2 separate regions of the Homo sapiens genome follow, and region 2 is linked to region 1. Evidence: promoter capture Hi-C in 16 types of primary human blood cells and fetal thymus (Javierre and others, 2016). All regions are on one chromosome and are shown on one strand. Each heading gives the region's core, a stretch centred on a gene start or on the middle of the fragment in contact. The rest is flanking DNA. Distances are from core to core; before and after follow the strand shown.

Region 1 (4,908 bases), core at 1,527-4,026:
AAAATTAGCCTGGAGTGTTGGTGCATGCCTGTAGTCCCAACTACTCGAGAGGTTGAGGCATGAGAATTGCTTGAACTCTGGAGGTGGAGGTTGTAGTGAGCCAAGATTGCACCACTGCACTCCAGCCTGGGTGACAGAGTGAGACTCTATCTCAAGGAAAAAAAAAAAAAAAAAGAGTGAGAGAGAGATGAGGAAATGGAGAAGAGGGAAGTTAAATAACTTGCCCAAATTACACAATAGGTCAGCCTCAAGATCAGGATTCAAATCCAGGCCTATCCAACCACATCCAAGTTTCCCAGACACCATGTGACTTCCCACGTAGGCTGCTTAGTTTCCAAGCCCTTCACTCTAACCAACCACTTTGCAGATATCATCTATAGAACACTATCCTCTGCGCATTTGCTGGAGTGATCAGATATAATTATTTCTATGTAAAAATTTATCCAATGGCTTCCCATTGGTCCCTATCATGACCTACAAGGCCCCTGTGATCTGTGTCATCTCACTCCAACCTTCTGACCTCTCCTCTCTGCTTCACTCTGTTTCTGCCCCAGGCACCTTGCTTTGCCTTAAGACATGCCAAGCTGACTCCCCAAATCAAGAGCCTCATACTTACGGGGGTCCTCAGACTCAAGCCAGTGCTATTCTCCCACTGTAAGCACAGCTTATTCCTTCACTTAATTGGTGCCTCAGCTTAACTGTCACCTCCTCAAAGAGAACCTTCCTGACCACGCTATCCAGAAAAAAGGAAAGTTATTGGCTTTCAATAATTACCTGTTGATTGTCGAATAAATGAAAGACTATATTGGAATGAAGAGACAGAGCGTGGCTGGCTTAGGACCAGCTGCTTGGCACATTCCAAGGGCAGAGATTCAGACCTCTCAGCAGTGAGAAGCCTTGTCTCATGGAAGAAAGGTAGCTTGCTTGCCTATATCAGAACAAATGACAGTACTGCTTTGTGTCATCTTCAAAAGTACCTAATACAGGAGAGGTGACACAAAACTGGGAGAGATAAGTCTCATGACTCTGAATAAATGTCAGAGTTACAAGGGACCTGAGGAGTCCTCTAAGGTCCAGCATTTTCCAGCTTCCAGTCTCTGAGCCACTTTTTGCTCTACTTCCTCCTCTGTCTGCCATGTTCCTTTTTGCAGCAGCTGTTCTTGACCAGACGGGCCTCCCTCTCCCAAACCCTCCTATCCCCCAGGGTTGAGGGGGGCATGAAGGCTTTAGATAACTACTTTTGTTGGGAAAACACTGTTCTCGTTTAAACTCTGTCACTTCATGGATGAAGAAACTGAGTGTTAGAGAACTGAAATAGTATGGTCGAAGTTCTGCCACTAATTAGTGTCAGACCTGAGCCTAGAGCCTAAGTCTTCTGACCACAAGACTAGTCCTAGCTCTACACTTCATGGAACAAATGGTAATCATACCCCACACTGTTCATTCAATTCAATTCTACAACCATGAATGGAGCCCCCCAAATGTACCTGGCCCCTAACTGGTTAGAATCAGGGGCAAAATATTGAAAACTGTATAGTTCCTGTCCCCAAAGGGTTTACTGAAAGTTTGAATACATAGTAAAAGGAATAAGTTTTTTTTTTTTTTTTTGGTGTTGGCATATTGGTTAATAGGTTAATGCAGTAGCCAGTTTAAACTCAGCAAGTACTTCAAGATACCTTCTCAGAGGTTCCATAAGCAGTTATGCTTAGGCCTCACTCTGGATGTGATTTTATAAGGAAGGAAGGAAAAAGAAAGAAAGGAAGGAAAAGAGAGAAAAGGAAAGGAAAACTGAACGGTGCTCTGGCCTCCTCCTTTCATGCCTTACTTGCACTTATCTCTGGTTTTTTCAAAGGTCTTAAGCTTCAGGTTCATTCCTGAAAAGCTTTTTGGTAAGGTCCTCACCTACTCTGAACTCCTGAGGGGAAGTGAAGTAGCTGAATAAGTTCCTCCTATTAGTATCCCCTACCAGGACCTCAGCCAGGACTTCAATAATAACCTTCTGAATTATTGTAGAAACCTGTGATTAGTATTAACCAAGTCAATAACAGGCATTTCCTCCATCAACCAAAGGCACATTTGAGGTCTTCTGGACCAATCTGGGTCAGTAACAGGGATTCCGATACCACCGACACAACCCACAGGGTTAGTATGTGTCAATCAGTTCTGTCCTGCCTAGCCCTGGCTCAGCTCTTCAGAGATGACCTCTTACAAAAAAAAAATCCACTTCCAACTTTAGAAAAAATTTTACTTCTCCATCATCATGACAATAAAGTCCATAAAAAGTGAGAGAGAGAGAAGGAGAGAATCCATGTGGGAGACAGTGAGAGCGTGTGAACAGTCAGAAATCATGAGCAAGAGTTGGCATTAACATGGAGACAAGTAATCCCTGGTTTCCTTGCTTTATATAAATAAAATGATAAGGATAAAAGAGAAAACAGACCATAAAGTAAAAACTTGTCTCTAGAAGCCTCTCTCCTTTAATCTCCCCATTCTCCCACCTCCCAAAAGACAAAGACACACATTACAGACCCAAACTACTTCAGATCAACATTTGCCTGTTTACAGAAATGAAACCAGCTTTCCCTCTGCCTGACCATGGATGCTCACCAGCTAACGCCCGAATTCACTCGCCCACTCAACTCACATTTTCCTGCCTGTTGAATGCAAAACAATGGCCTCCAAACACCAATTACCGATATTTAGAACTATTGTTTTCCTACCCTGGTTAGAGACGCCTCCATGAGAGACACAGGACTGAGCTCTTGAGTTGAAAGAGGACCTGGGGGGTGGAGGGAAACCCCTTTGCGAATGTCCACACGGTCCCGTTGCCAAGGGAACCCTGGCTTTATCCAGGGAGACTGAGCATGGCTGCCTCTCCCACGGCTTGGCTCCAGGAGTGTCCAGATTACAGTGCAGGGTCAAGAGGAGAGGCAGGGGAAGTGCCACACAGGCTTGGTGACAAAGAAATCGTTTTCAAAGAATGAAAGAAATGGTGAAAAATATCTTAGGAGGTGCCCGGTGGGGAGGGAATAAGTTGATTGATAATGCTGCGATCAGATTTGAGTTGGTCTTTGTGCCCCTGAAAGGGGTGGGATTCGAAAGTATATCTGAAAGGAGACAGGGTGGGAAGGAAAGAGAGAGTGAGACTGAGAGAGGAAAGGTTGAAAGGGGTGGGTTTTAGCCTCCTTCTGCGGATGCTGAATACTAATCAGGTAAACAATTATTTCATTAAGATGCTCAGTTGAAGCTTTGGAATGGATTATTTTGGCTACTGGATTGGTTGGAGGAGCTGTCTGGCTGTTTCCTAGAAGTCTGGTGGGAACTGGAGGGGAGATGATAATATAATCTTGATAGTCAAGCAAGTTTTTATTTGGCCTGCACTTTAAGGGCTGAGGCTGGCCTTTCTTTTCAGAGTGAAATCTCTTGGGAAGTGTGCCAAAGGAGGCACATTATGTGCATGCTTATTTTGAAAACCCATTTGTCAAAGGAGGAGTATGTTGAGCAGTGGTTTGGAGAGTTTGATTGGACCCTGATTCCTCACCTAGTGCCTGGCACAGTGTAGATGTTCAATAAAACATTTGCCACCTGAATGGTTGCTGAAGGAAAACTTGTTTCCAGCAACTTGCCTGTCCAGCAAGGATGAGTACTTTGAAGCAGTTGAGGCTCAGCAGATGTGGCTTACCTATTGACCCACAGATGAATGGGAACAAAATAGAGGACTTGAGCCCAGAGCCCCATTACCCTTGATCATGAATGTCTAATTGCTTTTTTAAAAATAGAGAATTCAAGGGAACTCTCTATCTAAATGTTGCTGCTACTATACAATAGGAAAAAAAAAGACAAGTAAATGAAAAGAAGTAATAATAGGTATCTCTGCAGGTGATCTGGGCTTAACATGGAGTGAGGATATTCGTACTGAGTTACAGTGAGGCACTCAGAAAAATTAAACACACACACACACACACACACACACACACACACACACACATATATATATATATATATTTCCCTGCAAGATGGTGAGCTTCTTATATTACTCATCTTCCAAGGCTTAGCTCTGGCATCAGTTACCCCAGGAACTTTCCATTACTATCCCCAACCTCAGCTTCCATAGTACTTTTTACAGTTTTTCCTCAGAATGCTTATCAAATGGATTTAGTTGTTGCTGCATGTGTACATAATCACAGGAATGGCCCTCTACCAGAATGGAATCTCCTTGATGGAAGGCACCATGCTTCATTCCTTTTCTTTAAAAAAAACTCTTTAATACTTAGTAAAACGCTTGTTACATAGGAAGTGCATGATACATATACTCAAGAATTGAACAGCAATGAGTCAATTTGTGAGTGTTTTGTTGAGTGTCAGCTGCATTAAGCTCAAGGGAAGATTCAAGTCAAGGTGAAGGTATAGTATCTGCCCGCTTCAAAAAGTTTAAAATCTATGTAAGATGAAGGTGACTTGGTCTTTAATGTTACTTAGGCTTACTGCAGTAAGTGTAGCTGAGAGTAACGGAAGTAATGCTTTTATTTAATGGATAAAAACCAGCTCTCTCAGTGGTGCTGTTGGTCAGATTGTGGCTATGAAACCCCAGAAACTCAGAGTTGCAAAAAGGCCCAGTTAGGCTTGCATGGTACGTGCTTATTTCTTCTTTTCAATACCCTTGGCTTTGTCAGCCCATCTACTCTAAAGAGGCCCCATTTAAGGGCGTGTTTCCTAGTAGTAGACAGGCTGGAAATAGCCCCAACCCAGCACTTTCTCCACTCTACCATGCTGCTTATTTTATAAAAAGACTAATCTAAATCCAACAAAACCTACTACCAAAAAATGCACAAATTACAACTGGCACATAGCCACAAACCCAGCATTTTAGACATTCATATCATTTGGGAATATCTGGACCCAGATTCC
Region 2 (4,995 bases), core at 404-2,903, 160 kb before region 1:
TTTATCAGACTTCAGGGTTTCAGCTTTTTCAAAACCCTATGTATGTGTACAGCTACCCATCAAATCATATGAATCTTCACCAGTAGGCACGGAAGCTGGAATCCATGAGGTGACTATTCAATAGACAAGTCAAAACGGTTTCGTTGATTAGTCAAAATACTGAAGGATAAATGACTACTCAATTTTAGGCAGACCCCTCCTCCTCTTCTTCCTCCTTTGTCTATGTTTTTTCTTCCTCCTCATTTTTTTTGTAAAGAAAATCTTAATATTGAAATATCTGCAGTTAAAAGTCACAGATTCAGTCTCTATTTTCTACTTGCCAACAGGAGTCCACTTAGGAGAATTTAGCTTTATAAAGTCAAGAAAACAGGTAGATAAAAAGATAAAAGAATAACCTGAAAGACTCTTTGACCTATCTTTATGCTATCTTCTCCATTTTCATTTGAGATACTTGGGAACAGATCATTATCAATGACGACAAACAAGCACTTGGAAATCAGATAGGATGAGTAGTCCTAACTCAGAACTAAGACGTTGACTCCAATAAGATTCTCAGCAGACCAGATTTTCTTAAAAGAATACAGATTGGCTGGTGGAATAAGGAAGGTGGCCCTGAAGACAGACTATTTACCTCTCTTTCATGTTCCCGATGGAATGAATGTCTTTCTCCTCTCTCCTTGTAGTATTTATAACGATGTTAAAACTCTCAGCACAGCCTAACTTCATTAGAGTTACTTGGGGCTCTATGTAATTCCCTTACTGGATTGAAATCTCCATGAGGGCAGGACCCGGGCCTCATTGATTTTTGAATTTCCCTCTCAGCTCTTGGACTGGGGCCCTGTGCATGGTAGATAATTTTCAATACATATAGGTTTAATTGAAAAGAATTAAAGAGAACTCAGAGGAATGCATTTTATACTTTTTCCCAGTTTAAGGAAAAGGGCAGCTTTGGTGTTGGATGCTATGCATGCTCATATTTCTACTTTCTTATCTGCTTCTTCCATTTCAGGACAGTATTGGTGAGGGTAGAGGTATCATGCCAAAGGCCAGCACACCCCCCCCAGAACCATTAATTATCTATTTTTACATCCTTGGCAAGGCCATCTGGTTTTGTAGAAAAATGCCCTGGTTATATGAAGGTTAATTGCAGAGGCAGGCCAAAAAATAAAAATAAAATTTAAAAAAAGGCAGTTACAAGGGACATTAAGTGACCTACTGTGTCATTCCAATCACTAATATTTCCTGCCTTTGTGGTCTGGAGACTCAATCTGCACTAAAGAGCTGAACAAGGCAATGCTATTTCCTGGTGGTGGTTATCATTGTTTCCCATATTAGGACAAAGCTAAGCACAAGGGGAGACAATGTGTATCGTGTCTCACAAGGGAAGGGTAAGCATCTTCAAAAGCTTACAAAATTACATTGAACCCATTTAGGCATATCAGGAGATATTGCCAAGCTGGAGAAATGAATTACCCAGCTGAATATCACAGGCATAATGAAGTTGTCAACAGCAACAGTGCAGCTGTAGATTGTCTGATTATGTGTTGACTGCACTGGCCATTCAGGGACACACCAGGAAGGAAATTGTTGTCATATTGTCCACCACATTCCAAGCCCCATCCCAGCCATGGTGATAAACCCGATACCCTTAGGAGTATGTGGAAAATAAAAATAACAACAGCAAGCCAGAAAGAAAGAGCATCCTCTTCTGATGGTCTCTTATGTCTAGCATTGCTGGAGTCTCTCCCCTTCTGTTACTCTAATCTGTCATCTTCTTTTAAAAAAATGACCATGACAAGGAATGCAAGTTTAGATTCTGGCCCTCCAAACAAACATTTCACAATGGGCTTTTTAGCCTTTGTTAAATTCAAAATAAGCGGGAGTCCAGCAAGAAAGCTTTAACTACGTGGGTGGGATTTACACCTTTCCTATGAGTCAAAGATGAAGGCAAGCTGGAGTTTTCCCTTTTGCTAAAGCATCTAAAAAGGTTGATTTGCAATGTTTCTGGACAGCAACTGGAATGTTCTTGAAGGTTCTTCTGGCTTTTTTCTTTTTTAAAAACACCTTCAGTTTTCTCCTCTAAGTGAGGGGGTCATGCTAGATGACGTTGAAAGTCACTTCTAGCTCTAACATGTTATGATGTCAAGAAGCCATAGAGCACTTAACACATAGAAGAACTTCTCTGCCACAAAGAAAAAAATGCTTTATTTCAACCCAGCTAGTCTTGGTTTGTATTGGACATATGGTCTGATATTTCAGAGTCAATATATGTGATCTCTCTTTCCAGAGAGTGTGCTGAAATCTGCTTTAAACGTGTGTTATTTATCAGGAATGTTTTCTTTTTTAAAAAGGAACTAATGTAGATGTGCCTCACTCATTAATAGAATTCTATTCTCTATTCAGGTTTTCTTCAGAGAAAGCCAACAAGATGTTTCTATTAGTGGGACTGGTGCTTTTTAAATGCTTACAGTATAGCACAGGAGCATTTGATCCTTTAATTACCCTAGGTGGCCCCACTCAGTGGGTGGTGATTTGGGTGAGGAATCTGGATAGCTTTGGTGGTCAGTCAAGCCATAAAGAAAACTCTCCTCCTTCCACCCTCATTTATTTTTCTCTCCTGAGTGCCAGTCAAAATGAGATTTTTTTGTTTTTTGTCAATTCTTCTAGGAATACTTCTGTTTGGCATTTGAATCCAGGCTTAAGTTAAATTTTAGGCCCCCAAGACCAAATTTCCAAAAGGGTCCTCTACCCTTGGCTAACTGCTAAATGAATAAATCTCTAAAGAAGCCTTCCGTATTTTCCAGGTCCTTTTCTCCATTTATTTCACAGCCTAAGTGTTCCTTAGATGATACTTGAGTGGGTGGCTTATGACCCAGTCTCCTGCCAAATTGCTCAGCTTTCTACTGCCATAAGAAATACCTCCTCCATTTTACAAATGGAAAAGTCTCCTTGGTTTATCTCCACAACTTCATGGAATCAGATCCTTAGTATTAAGGAGAGAATTCTTTGTAATTAATCACAGTGAGAATTTGAAATACCAAGAGAAGCAAGGAAGTTAATTCTATTTGCACATTCAAGCATAATAATAAAGACGCATAACTGTGTAATAAGACCCAGCAATTATAAAGGCCATCTGCACTATCAGTTAAACGTTGACTGTAAATGCCACTTTACCCATTAAAATTACTCTCAGCTGAAAATAAAAACTTTGTCCCCTTTCTTCTAAAAATGTCAGATGAAGTTTGCTGTACAAATGTCAGGAGCGTCTGACCTAAGGCATATAGCAGCAAAGAGGCATTTAATGAATTGGAGAAGAAAGAAGAACAGAGGAGGAAAAACAAAAAGAAAGTTGAAGAGGTTGTAGGAACACTTTTAAGAAGCCTTGACTGATTCATCTTTTTAAATTGTAGCCTCATCTCTATTATTCCCATCTTCTCTTCACAGACATTGGTGTGACCCTTTTATTTCTGGCCTAGTTCTTCTGTCTTCAGACTCCTGTCCAAATTCCCTTTCTTCATTTTGTCCCAGACTCTGAACTCCTATGAAATCAGATAGAGCAGAGTCTGAATGGGCTGCTCTGGCTACTTTCTAAGGAGTAGAGGAGCTTTCTAAGCTCAGAGGAGCTTTCTCAAGGACTGCATATGCCAAATACTCAATGTCATTCTTCTGCATTGTGAAACCTACTGGATGCACCTTGCAGCACAGCAAAGGCGTTGAATGGAATTAAAAGGTCAATGGCTTATTCACTTCCTTCACTATTTGGGAGAAAAGTACAAGATTTTGCTCAGAGAGGATTAAAAGGACAGCAACAGGCACCTTCTGTCTGGGCTGCCCTGCTAGCTAGCATAGTCTTCTCTTAGTTTGAAAGGGGAGTCACAGTGTTTCACGCATTTGTCAGATGCTCAAACTCAGTCTGTCAAATACAACTACAACCAAGGCTGATTATCCATTCTCATTGTTCCTTCAGTGATTTATCTTCAGCATCAAGGAAAAGTGGGAGTTTTCTGTGACATTTGCAACTTCAAAGTACATTTAATTCTTAAAGAAAGAGAGAGAGAGAGAATGAATCATGCTACATATTCACCATCTCCTCCAGCTATATTAGTGAGAAAATCAAGCCTCAGGAGCATTTACATTTCATTAAGCAAACATTAACTTACTGCAATGTGGCATATGGACAGGAGAAATTGTGGCTGTTTTAACTGATTGAATTAAAAACAAATAGGCTGAAGAGAGTTACATGTAGCCCAGTGAAACACATTTGCACCTGAACAAGAAGGGCTTATTTCGAGCTCGGCAGCATTGAGGAGTTGAGACTGAGAATACATCTCTGCCTGAGAGGGTATCAGGTACCAAACAAGAACTCCAGAATTAGAGTGATGGTTTTGATGACTAATTAAAAAAAATTATGTTGCTTTCAGTTAATGTAAAATCATTCATGTCTTCTTTTGTCTACATCTATAAATTTTTTGACTGTGCCCTTATCTAAAAGGTCCTGAGGTTCAGGATGCTGTAAAGATTACTGATGAGGGCAGCTTGAGCTTGAGAACCATTGTAGGAAAAAGTCCAATATATTGGAAATGAAACACCAGTTAGAGTCAGGAGATATGAGTAAAAGACTTGGGTTTCCTACTTATTAGCTGTGAATCTTTGCAGTCTTTGGCCACTTGACCTGAGTCTTAATTCTCTTATCTATAAAGTGAAATTAATAGTAGTCACCCTGCAAATGCTAGAATAGTCATATTACAATAGAAGATATACAAATGGTCAATAAGCACATAAAAAGGTGCTCAATATGATTAGTCCTCAGAGAATTATAAAATAAAATTAAAATGAGATACTAGTTTACACCCACTATGATGGCTAAAACCAAGAGTTGGTGAGGTTGTGGAGCAACTATAGTGCCTTTAGGTTGCTGATTGGAGTATAAAATGGTATACCTTTGGAGAACTGTTTGACAGTCTTTTACAAAGTTAAATATAATATACCTTATGA

What was found. Contacts are between HindIII fragments. The CHiCAGO score rates a contact against its expected background, and 5 or more counts as called.
Region 2: a fragment that was not itself captured here is called in contact with the fragment with the promoter of ANKFN1 in region 1 in 3 of 17 cell types (M1 macrophages, M0 macrophages and endothelial precursors); the score reaches 7.5 in M1 macrophages.

What each region holds. Positions count from the first base shown.
Region 1 is chr17:56,151,343-56,156,250 of GRCh38, reverse strand. It overlaps ANKFN1 (ankyrin repeat and fibronectin type III domain containing 1), which reads right to left and starts at 2,776. Exons shown (of 21, transcript NM_001370326.1): 1 at 2,721-2,776. The HindIII fragment of the contact is 1,365 bases long and covers 1,885-3,249 here.
Region 2 is chr17:56,314,307-56,319,301 of GRCh38, reverse strand. The region is part of intron 3 of ANKFN1 (ankyrin repeat and fibronectin type III domain containing 1); the gene reads right to left. Among named protein-coding and RNA genes, the nearest start is that of ANKFN1, 160 kb to the right of the region's middle. The HindIII fragment of the contact is 491 bases long and covers 1,408-1,898 here.